Linked DNA regions of Homo sapiens: region 1 is linked to region 2. Evidence: promoter capture Hi-C in human tissues and cell types (Jung and others, 2019). All regions are on one chromosome and are shown on one strand. Each heading gives the region's core, a stretch centred on a gene start or on the middle of the fragment in contact. The rest is flanking DNA. Distances are from core to core; before and after follow the strand shown. Region 1 overlaps ABCA12 (ATP binding cassette subfamily A member 12). Region 2 holds the start of ABCA12 (ATP binding cassette subfamily A member 12).

Evidence for each region. The method cuts DNA at HindIII sites, captures the fragments that hold promoters and counts their contacts. A contact is called where the count stands out against the background at its distance.
Region 1: a contact is called between a fragment that was not itself captured here and the fragment with the promoter of ABCA12 in region 2, in 3 of the 25 tissues and cell types used here (bladder, small bowel and spleen).

Annotation. Positions count from the first base shown.
Region 1 is chr2:215,068,128-215,072,280 of GRCh38, reverse strand. The region is part of intron 2 of ABCA12 (ATP binding cassette subfamily A member 12); the gene reads left to right. Among named protein-coding and RNA genes, the nearest start is that of ABCA12, 68 kb to the left of the region's middle. The HindIII fragment of the contact is 5,384 bases long and covers 1-3,960 here.
Region 2 is chr2:215,137,357-215,141,554 of GRCh38, reverse strand. It overlaps ABCA12 (ATP binding cassette subfamily A member 12), which reads left to right and starts at 2,929. Exons shown (of 53, transcript NM_173076.3): 1 at 2,929-3,415. The coding sequence starts at 3,347. The HindIII fragment of the contact is 12,690 bases long and covers 1-4,198 here.

The DNA.
Region 1 (4,153 bases), core at 19-2,518, 68 kb after region 2:
TCAAAATCCGTCTGGCTGTGGTACTTGGCAGCAGCTATGAGGGATGCAGAGGATGTCAGAAAGATCCCGACATTGTAGGACACCCACCCAAATGACCCAAGGTTTGTTCTTGTTCCTTGTGGCTGTAGCAATTGAACATATTCAGGTGCCAACGTTTTGAGTACAGGAACTCCTTAATCACTGCTTTCAGGATTAGGCATCTTGCCTCAGCCCTCATTACCACCTACAGTCTACCTTTTTGCCAATGGATTTGAACTTGGAAAAGAATCTGTGCTATGAAGTAAGACTTGCCTGGGGAGAAGGAGGGAGAATGTATCATGGCACCACACCCACTGAGCACACAGTAATTTAAACACTACAGCGGTTGATACAGGTACATATTATGAATTACTAGGAAGAGAAGTGCATCATCATGCAACACTCCAAACCATTCACTGGCTCAAGGCATGAGCCAGGAGACCAGGTCGAGCAGAGAAGCCACAGCCAGCAAGTGGAAAATAAGATGAATGATGCAAGAGAAGCCCGATGAGCAATGGTAACTCATGGTTCCATGGGGCCTTGTGTCTTCAATGCTTATAGTACCTTACACAAGCATTGCCTAATTGATCTTCCCTGTGCCCTGTGAGATGGCAAAATCCATTATCTTCAATTTGGGAGATGTGGAAATAGAGTCCTAGGTTAATTTACCCCCTGGTGATTCAGTGATTCAACAGCAAAACTAGAAGTGTACCTGTTTTTCAAATTCTCAGTCTCTTTCCTCCTCCAAGATTCTGAAGCTTAGCTGAACATGTTGTTTTCATTACTGTAATCTATCATATAGTTCTAGATCCATCTCTGGCATTTTATTGTTTATGTTTGTTTATTATTAATTATTTATTTGGACTTTGACCAAATTGCTTGATTTCTCGGAGGTTATCTACAAAATGGGCATAAACCCTCACCCTGCCTATCTGACAGAATTGTCATGGAGCTTGTATGAAATGATGTATGTTAAATTCCTTCAAAACCATGAAGATTTATTTTTTATTTTATTTTATTTTATTTTATTTTATTTTATTTTATTTTATTTTATTTTATTTTATTTGAGACAGGATCTCACTCTGTTGCCCAGGCTGGAGTGTTGTGGCATGATCATGGCTCACTGCAGCCTTGAACTCCTGAGCTCAAGCGATTCTCCTACCTCAGCCTCTGGAGTAGGTGGGACTGCAGGCACATACCAGCATGCCGAGATAGTTTGTGGGTTTTCTTGAGTGTGTATTTTTTGTAGAAACAGGGTTTCGCCATGTTGCCCAGGCTTTGTCTCGAACTGCTGGGCTTAAGCAATCCATCCGTCTTGGCATCCCAAAGTGCGAGAGTATAGGTGTGAGCCTCTGCTCCTAGCCGAAGGTTTATTTTTTAACCAATGTCTTTTGTTTGTTTTCAAACATACACTTTTTAGTACACAATATTTCTGGCAGTTCAGGAAAACAAATGATTTCTATATGCATTTTACTTAATAAAACTGTGATGACCTTGTAAACCAGATTCACATACTCTCTCTTTTTTCTGTCTTTCCATAATAACCCAGAGTAATATTTTTTAACTGTTAAGATGAACAATTTTTAATCATCATTCTCAGTAAACTATCACAAGGACAAAAAAACAAACACCGCATGTTCTCACTCATAGATGGGAATTGAAAAATGAGAACACATAGACACAGGAAGGGGAACATCACACTCTGGGGACTGTTGTGGGGTGGGGGGAGGGGGGAGGGATAGCATTAGGAGATATACCTAATGCTAAATGACTGACGAGTTAATGGGTGCAGCACACCAGCATGGCACATGTATACATATGTAACTAACTGTGCACATGTACCCTAAAACTTAAAGTATAATAATAATAAAAACATTTAAAAAAAAGATGAACGATTTTTTAAAAAATAGAAGAATGAACCCTACTTAACACCTTTCTTGGTGCCAAGCACACAATACCTGCCCAGTAAATATTATTGAATAGATGGCGAATGGATTCACTTTGTGGATAATAAATCCAGAGGTTGACATTTATGGATGTCAATGTGTATTAGTTAGATTTTCAGAAAAATCAATACTGAAAGGCTCTACAACAATAAATATTGATTTTATTAATCATTTAAATCTGTCTATTTTACAAGGCATGTGAATATAACACAATATTATCCCTTGAACTTACTATAACATTGGAATACAATTTGAATCTTTGTCCTACAAACGATAAACATAACGATGTATATTAGGTTAGAGTCTTGAGTCATGCAGTCTTCCTCGGACTCCCCCAGGGGTTCCTACAGCTACCCATTTATTCACATATTTAAAATTGTTTACAATGTGTGAAGCATTGTGCTAAGAACTATGTAAGGTTTTTTCTTTCTTTTAAATAGCTTATTTTTTTATCCAGTCTCTTAAAAAGACGCAATTTTACTAGGTTAGAGTCTCTATTAGCAAGTTCGAAGTCATATTGGTTTTCAGCCCTAGGCTGAAGTCACTCTAGGCCACATAGGTGTAGAAGCCCTCATTCCGAGGGACTGGAATCAGGAAGAACTGGTGTATTTGATTTTATCTGAAGGTGGGTGGTGGACAGGACACCTCCCCTCAGTAAGTAGACTGATCCCTCAAATGAAAGGTGCATGCGAAGGAGAACAGGAACAGATCTACAGGCTCCTGATATAATGTTACGAACTACTTTGAAAGGCCAAGTTTATATCATTTACAATTTAACTTGTCTTTTCAAGTGTAACCGAGAACAAAATGTGCTTGAAAACTACAAGAAGATTTAAAAAAAAACGTTAATAAATTATTACAAATATGCTTCTAAGATTCATTTCCTTTCCTATGCTTTGAAAATTCACATTTAGGTATTTGATTGTTTACAGCTGATGTTTTTGATATGCTTCTCTCATTCTGTACTCTTGATATGGTGTTAAGTCCCTGTTGTGGTGCTTGACAAGGAGACATTATTTGCACGATCAGAAGGCCTGACACTTATTCTGCCACTGTGACCCTGTATCCAAAGAAATTAAGAAAAAAAAAAATGCTCTCAAATGAGTAACTCCATATTTTTTTTTTTAAAAGTCAGAATTTTCCTTCCAAAATGTATCATTCTATTCTTCACTGGGGTAAAGACTAAATGCCTTTCACCTGGAAATATAAAAATACCAACTAGGTTGTCTTCTGAACTGTTTTGAGAAAAACAGAATGAAACAGTGGCAAGTGTCCGATTCTACCATTGCTATAATGTGTACAAATGTCACCGAGGCAGCCTACAGAATATTTCTGGAGCCTAATGATTTCAAATGGAAGTAGCTTCATTCCTGAAAAGACCATGGCATAACTTTCTGCAATAATAAAATAAATAGAAAATAGCACTTCTCTAGACAGTGCCAGTGAGCAATGTGCTCCTGAATTTATTGCGGAAGTGAGTCAAAATTCTTCTATGGTGGTGAAAAAGACAAAGTAAAGGAAGACATTGAGAGACAACTGCATTCTTGGCTGCATCAATGAATACAGAGAGGGGAGCAGGGAGGAAAGGCAGCAGCAGGAGGAAAAGGGAAAAGAAGAATTGGAAATTGAACGAAAAGAGGAAGTAGTGAGTGAAAAGGAAAGAAGAAAACATTAAGAAGTAGAGGAAAAAGAATTAAGTCGATTAGATGCAATGAGGGAAGAGGAAAAGAAGGATGGGGGAGAAAGTGAAAACAGGAAGTGAACAAGGCAGGGGAAGGAGGGAGATGCCTGTAAGAAAGGCTATCCTTCCAGGAGTCAGCAAACTACAGCCTGTGGGCCAATTCCAGCCTATTGCCTGTTTCTGTAAATAAAGTTTTATTGGAATACAACCAGGCTCATTGAGGCACCCATTGTCTATGGCTGCTTTCATACTATAATTGCAAAATTCAGTAATTGTAATGGAGACAGTATGGCCCACAAGCTTAAAATATTTACTGATTCTCATGAAAAGCTTTGCAGTCTAATCCAGTGGTTCCCAAACTTCACTGTGCATCAGAATTACCTAGAGAGCTTATTAAAACACAGACTGATGAACCCCATCCCCAGAGTTTCTGATTAAGGAGATCTGGGGTGGGATCTGAAATTTTTATTTCTAATAAGTTCCCAGGTGACACTGATGTTGTTGGTCC
Region 2 (4,198 bases), core at 1,680-4,179:
TATCAACCTCTTACATCGCAAGTGGATCTTAGGCAATGAGGTATTAGCAACTGGTGCCTCATTATGGTAATCCTTGGGTGGAGTCCCACCCTTCTTATAAAAGAAGGATGCTGTTATTTTTACCATGAGTTAGCTTCAATTTCCCAACTTGTTGCACATTTCCACCTAGGTTAAATGTGTGCACTTGCTGTGTTTTCTTACCCATGCTTGCTTTATTAGGGCCTGTTGGAGAACAGGTTTTGCAGACACAGAAACCTGGGTTCAAATTAATGTTCTGACACCCATTATCTGTGTGACCTCAGGAAGCTACTTGTCCTATGCATCTTCACGTATACAGCAGGTAAAATAATGTTGACCTCACAGGTCCTGTATGCAATGAGTATCCCATAGCACCTTAATGTAAAAGTCAGTTGATGGTAAAACAAACAAACAAACAAAGTTGTCACTGATGCTATACACAACAACCAGTGCTGAGACAAAGGAGTAAAATTATAATCTGGTTGCTGTTAAAATTTCTGAACTGTTTTACATCATCACTAACTCAATTCACTTGTTTTTTCTATTCAAAAACAGGGTTTCAAGTCTCAACTTCAATCAGTTTCTCATTCTACTAACATTTTCATCATCCCACAGCATCGGCTTTATCATACTCTATCTCTTAAGAAGAGTTTCCAGGAACTTTTCATTTTAAATCCGCAATATGACATCTCCTCCTCTTTGGCTTTAGGTCCCTAACTCTCCAACTTTATCTTCTACTACTTCAGACCAGCTCTTAGATTTAGTTGGGTCAGAATTCTCACCATTCAGGAATACAGAATTTATCTCAAAATTGTGGTGTTCCATGAGACTTGGTCCCTGTACTCAAGGGGCTCAGAGTATGGACAGAGAGACAGACTGACTATACTAGAAGGTAATAAGGGAGTTGGCTATCTGTGCGAACAAAGCTTTATGGGAAAACAGATGAAGGGGTGATTAATTCAGCCGGGGGTGGGGGTGTGGTGGGTGGAAGTGCTGGAAAAGGCTTCAGAGGGGAAGTTACACTTGAGTCAGTCATTTGAGAATGAGCACAATTTCATTTTGGGCAGAGGGAACAGCATGACCAAAGCCTGAAAGTGAACAGTCCTCATCTAAAGTATTCTAGCAGATGGCAGGAGGGAGGGCTGAAGGTGGAGAGACAACTGATGAAGCTGGCAAGAGCCAGGCTGGGAAGTGCCGTGAGGCTCTATGAAGAAGCCTAAAAGAGCAGCCTTCCTTCTCCTGAATTCCTGGAGCAACTACTCTTTGTGAACTCATTTTGGCCATAATTTTTCATGCGTGTACTTACAAAAAAATCTCTACAAGTGATTTATAGACCTGCCTAGAGAAACAGGGAAAATCCCTGATGTTCATTTGTTTCTCAGCTCTTCCTGTGAAGTGTAATACATGGGACTGGAGAAAACATAGCACAGAGATTAACAGTACAGAAACGAGGTTCGAGTTCCTTCTCTGCTGTTCCCACTGTCCTCACTGCTAACTAGGTGAAATCCAGCAAGTTATGGCACTTCTAAATATCACTTTCTTTCACTGAAAATGGGAATAATGACAGTTTCTATATAATAGGACTCCTAGGATGATTCAATAAGTCCTTAGCAAACATTGCTACCCAATTAATAGAATTAATTGACTACTTACTATGAGGCAGGACCTGTGCTAGATTCCTTTTTTTGGAGGGGGGATGGAATCTCACTCTTTTGCCCAGGCTGGAGTGCAGTGGCGCCATCTCAGCTCACTGCAACCTCTGCCTCCCGGTTTCAAGCGATTCTCCCTCCTCAGCCTCCCAAATAGCTGGGATTACAGGTGCCCACCACCATGCCTGGCTAATTTTTGTGTTTTTAGTAGAGACGGGGTTTCACCATGTTTGCGAGGCTGGTCTTGAACTCCTGACCTCAAGTGATCAGCCCGTCTCGGCCTCCCAAATTGCTGGGATTACAGGCATGAGCCACCGCACCTGGCGAAGGGAGAACTCTTAATGCTTTAACGGATTTTGCAAGTAAAGTCTGGATTAGTCAGGGTAGGTGTGAGGATCAAAGGGGAGCTTCACCCTACTAGCCTTGGCTCCAGTAGTTTATTCAATTACATTCAGCAGCAAGTATTGAACACTAATGATATGTAAAGTACTGTGATATAAAATAGTCCATGTCCTCAAATAATTTATAATCTTGTAGGAAAAATAAGACATACACAAATAAAAATAATGCAAAAACTTTAAGTTCCTTGAGAGAGGGCAACAAAGAATGATTCAAAGGCAAGAGAATCTATCCTATGGGATATATCCAAAAAGGCTTCATTGAAGATGTCAACTTGGGGATAACTTTGAAAGGCAGGATCTTAGAGAGGGAGGAATGTATCATGGAAAGAGGAAATAGAAATGTCTTGGATCAGCCTGTGTCCCCTTTCACTATAAGAGCCTGAAACAATGTGGCTTGTCTGTAATAGACACGTGAATCTCCACTCACGAATTGAGGGACTCCAGTTTGTAATTTATGTCCCCTACAGCCTACCTTTCCTTTTCTGCCCTGTGCTTAACCTAGTACATTGTGATGAAAGGTGGGACCTGGCCAACATAGTTTCTTCCCCCAAAATCGAAACATTCAACTTTAGGTTAAAGGTGGACACTTTCCCTAGTATATCTAATGATGGGCTGAGGCTCAGAGCTTTGCAGCTAAGCTCTGGCCTTATTGACTTAAATCATTTTAATGACACTTTAATATTAAAGAGTCACTGGGCCCAGTGTCTGTGAAATGCTCTCTGTGCCCTGCCTCTGCTAGAGCAGACACTGTGTGCAGGAAAGAAGACAAGAGAATGTAGGACAAGTCCTACTGGCCTTGCAAAGGTCCCACCCCCTAGTCCCTGTGACGCATCCAGTGCAGGTGACATGTTCTCTAAGGTGTGGATAGGCAATTAATTTCATGGAGAGTAGGAGGTGTGGGTTCAGCTGCTGCTTTTTTTTTTTTTTCAGTGAGGCATTATCTGAATGATGCTCATTCTCTCTTGAGTCTGGACTTCGTGCAACAAGCAGCAACTGGATATTATTTTAAAATAAGCATAAGCCACCCAAAGATACTGATCTGGGTCCTTCTTTTGGAAGAAGAGTTGATTGAGAAGTGCCTCTTGGTTAAGGATTAACCACAGGGAAAAATCCAGCAGAAACAGAAGAACTGTGGGTTTCTTACCCCAGCCCTCAAGGAAGCTATGCCGTGAAAGGGGTACTGATACACTGACATACAGCAAGTTGGACGGGGCATCAGTTCTTCATTTGTGGAGTGGAGAAAAGAAGAGGAAATCTCTCATTTGGGGCATTTGAAGGATGGCTTCCCTGTTTCATCAGCTTCAGATCCTGGTCTGGAAAAATTGGCTAGGTGTAAAAAGGCAGCCGGTGAGTTAAAAAAAAGTGTGGGAGTATGGGTCATGGGGCAATACGCCAGGTAATCCTAAAATGTGATCTTAATGAGAAGTGAAAACAGAAGAGTTTAAAGGCATTTTCCAAAGCAGGAAGTAAGATATTTAGAATTCATCCCCCTATCTGTCTTATAGCTAATGGAGCGAGTCTTAACATGCCCCCAAAAGCAGCCTTTTCATTTCAGTAAATTAAAGAGTAAACCAGGACATGCCCTGGGCAAAAAAAAAAGAACATGACTCATTACTGGCTGAACTGGAACGTTGAATTCTGGTTTCAAGCCAAAAGGCTTTCAGAATTTTTCTTAATGTAGTTAAAAATGGGATAGAGGAAAGAAAAGTATTATTTGAAATGTACAATAAATGGGAAGAAATATACTGGAAAACTGAAAGCCATAGAAAGTTTGGTTGAAAGGTAAAATACAGAACAGAAATAGTTTGAAGGCTATTAGTATAGAAAAGCTACTGAGAAATTTTAGTATCTAAAAATCATTTACTGGGAATACCAAACAAGAGTATGTATATGTGCTATGTTTTAAGAATATTATTGAATCACTTAGCTTTACTACTACAATCTATCTTCTCTTGCTCATTGCAACGTCTTTTTTGTACTCTTACATTAATGTTTGCGTTCTAATTACAAAGTTAGCTATTAGATCCTCATCAGATGGCTCCCAGGATGATTGAGAAAGGAATTGGTTTCTGGGAGTTGTTATATATTCAGAAGAATGTTTGAAAATCGGGGAAATCCAAAAAGGTATTC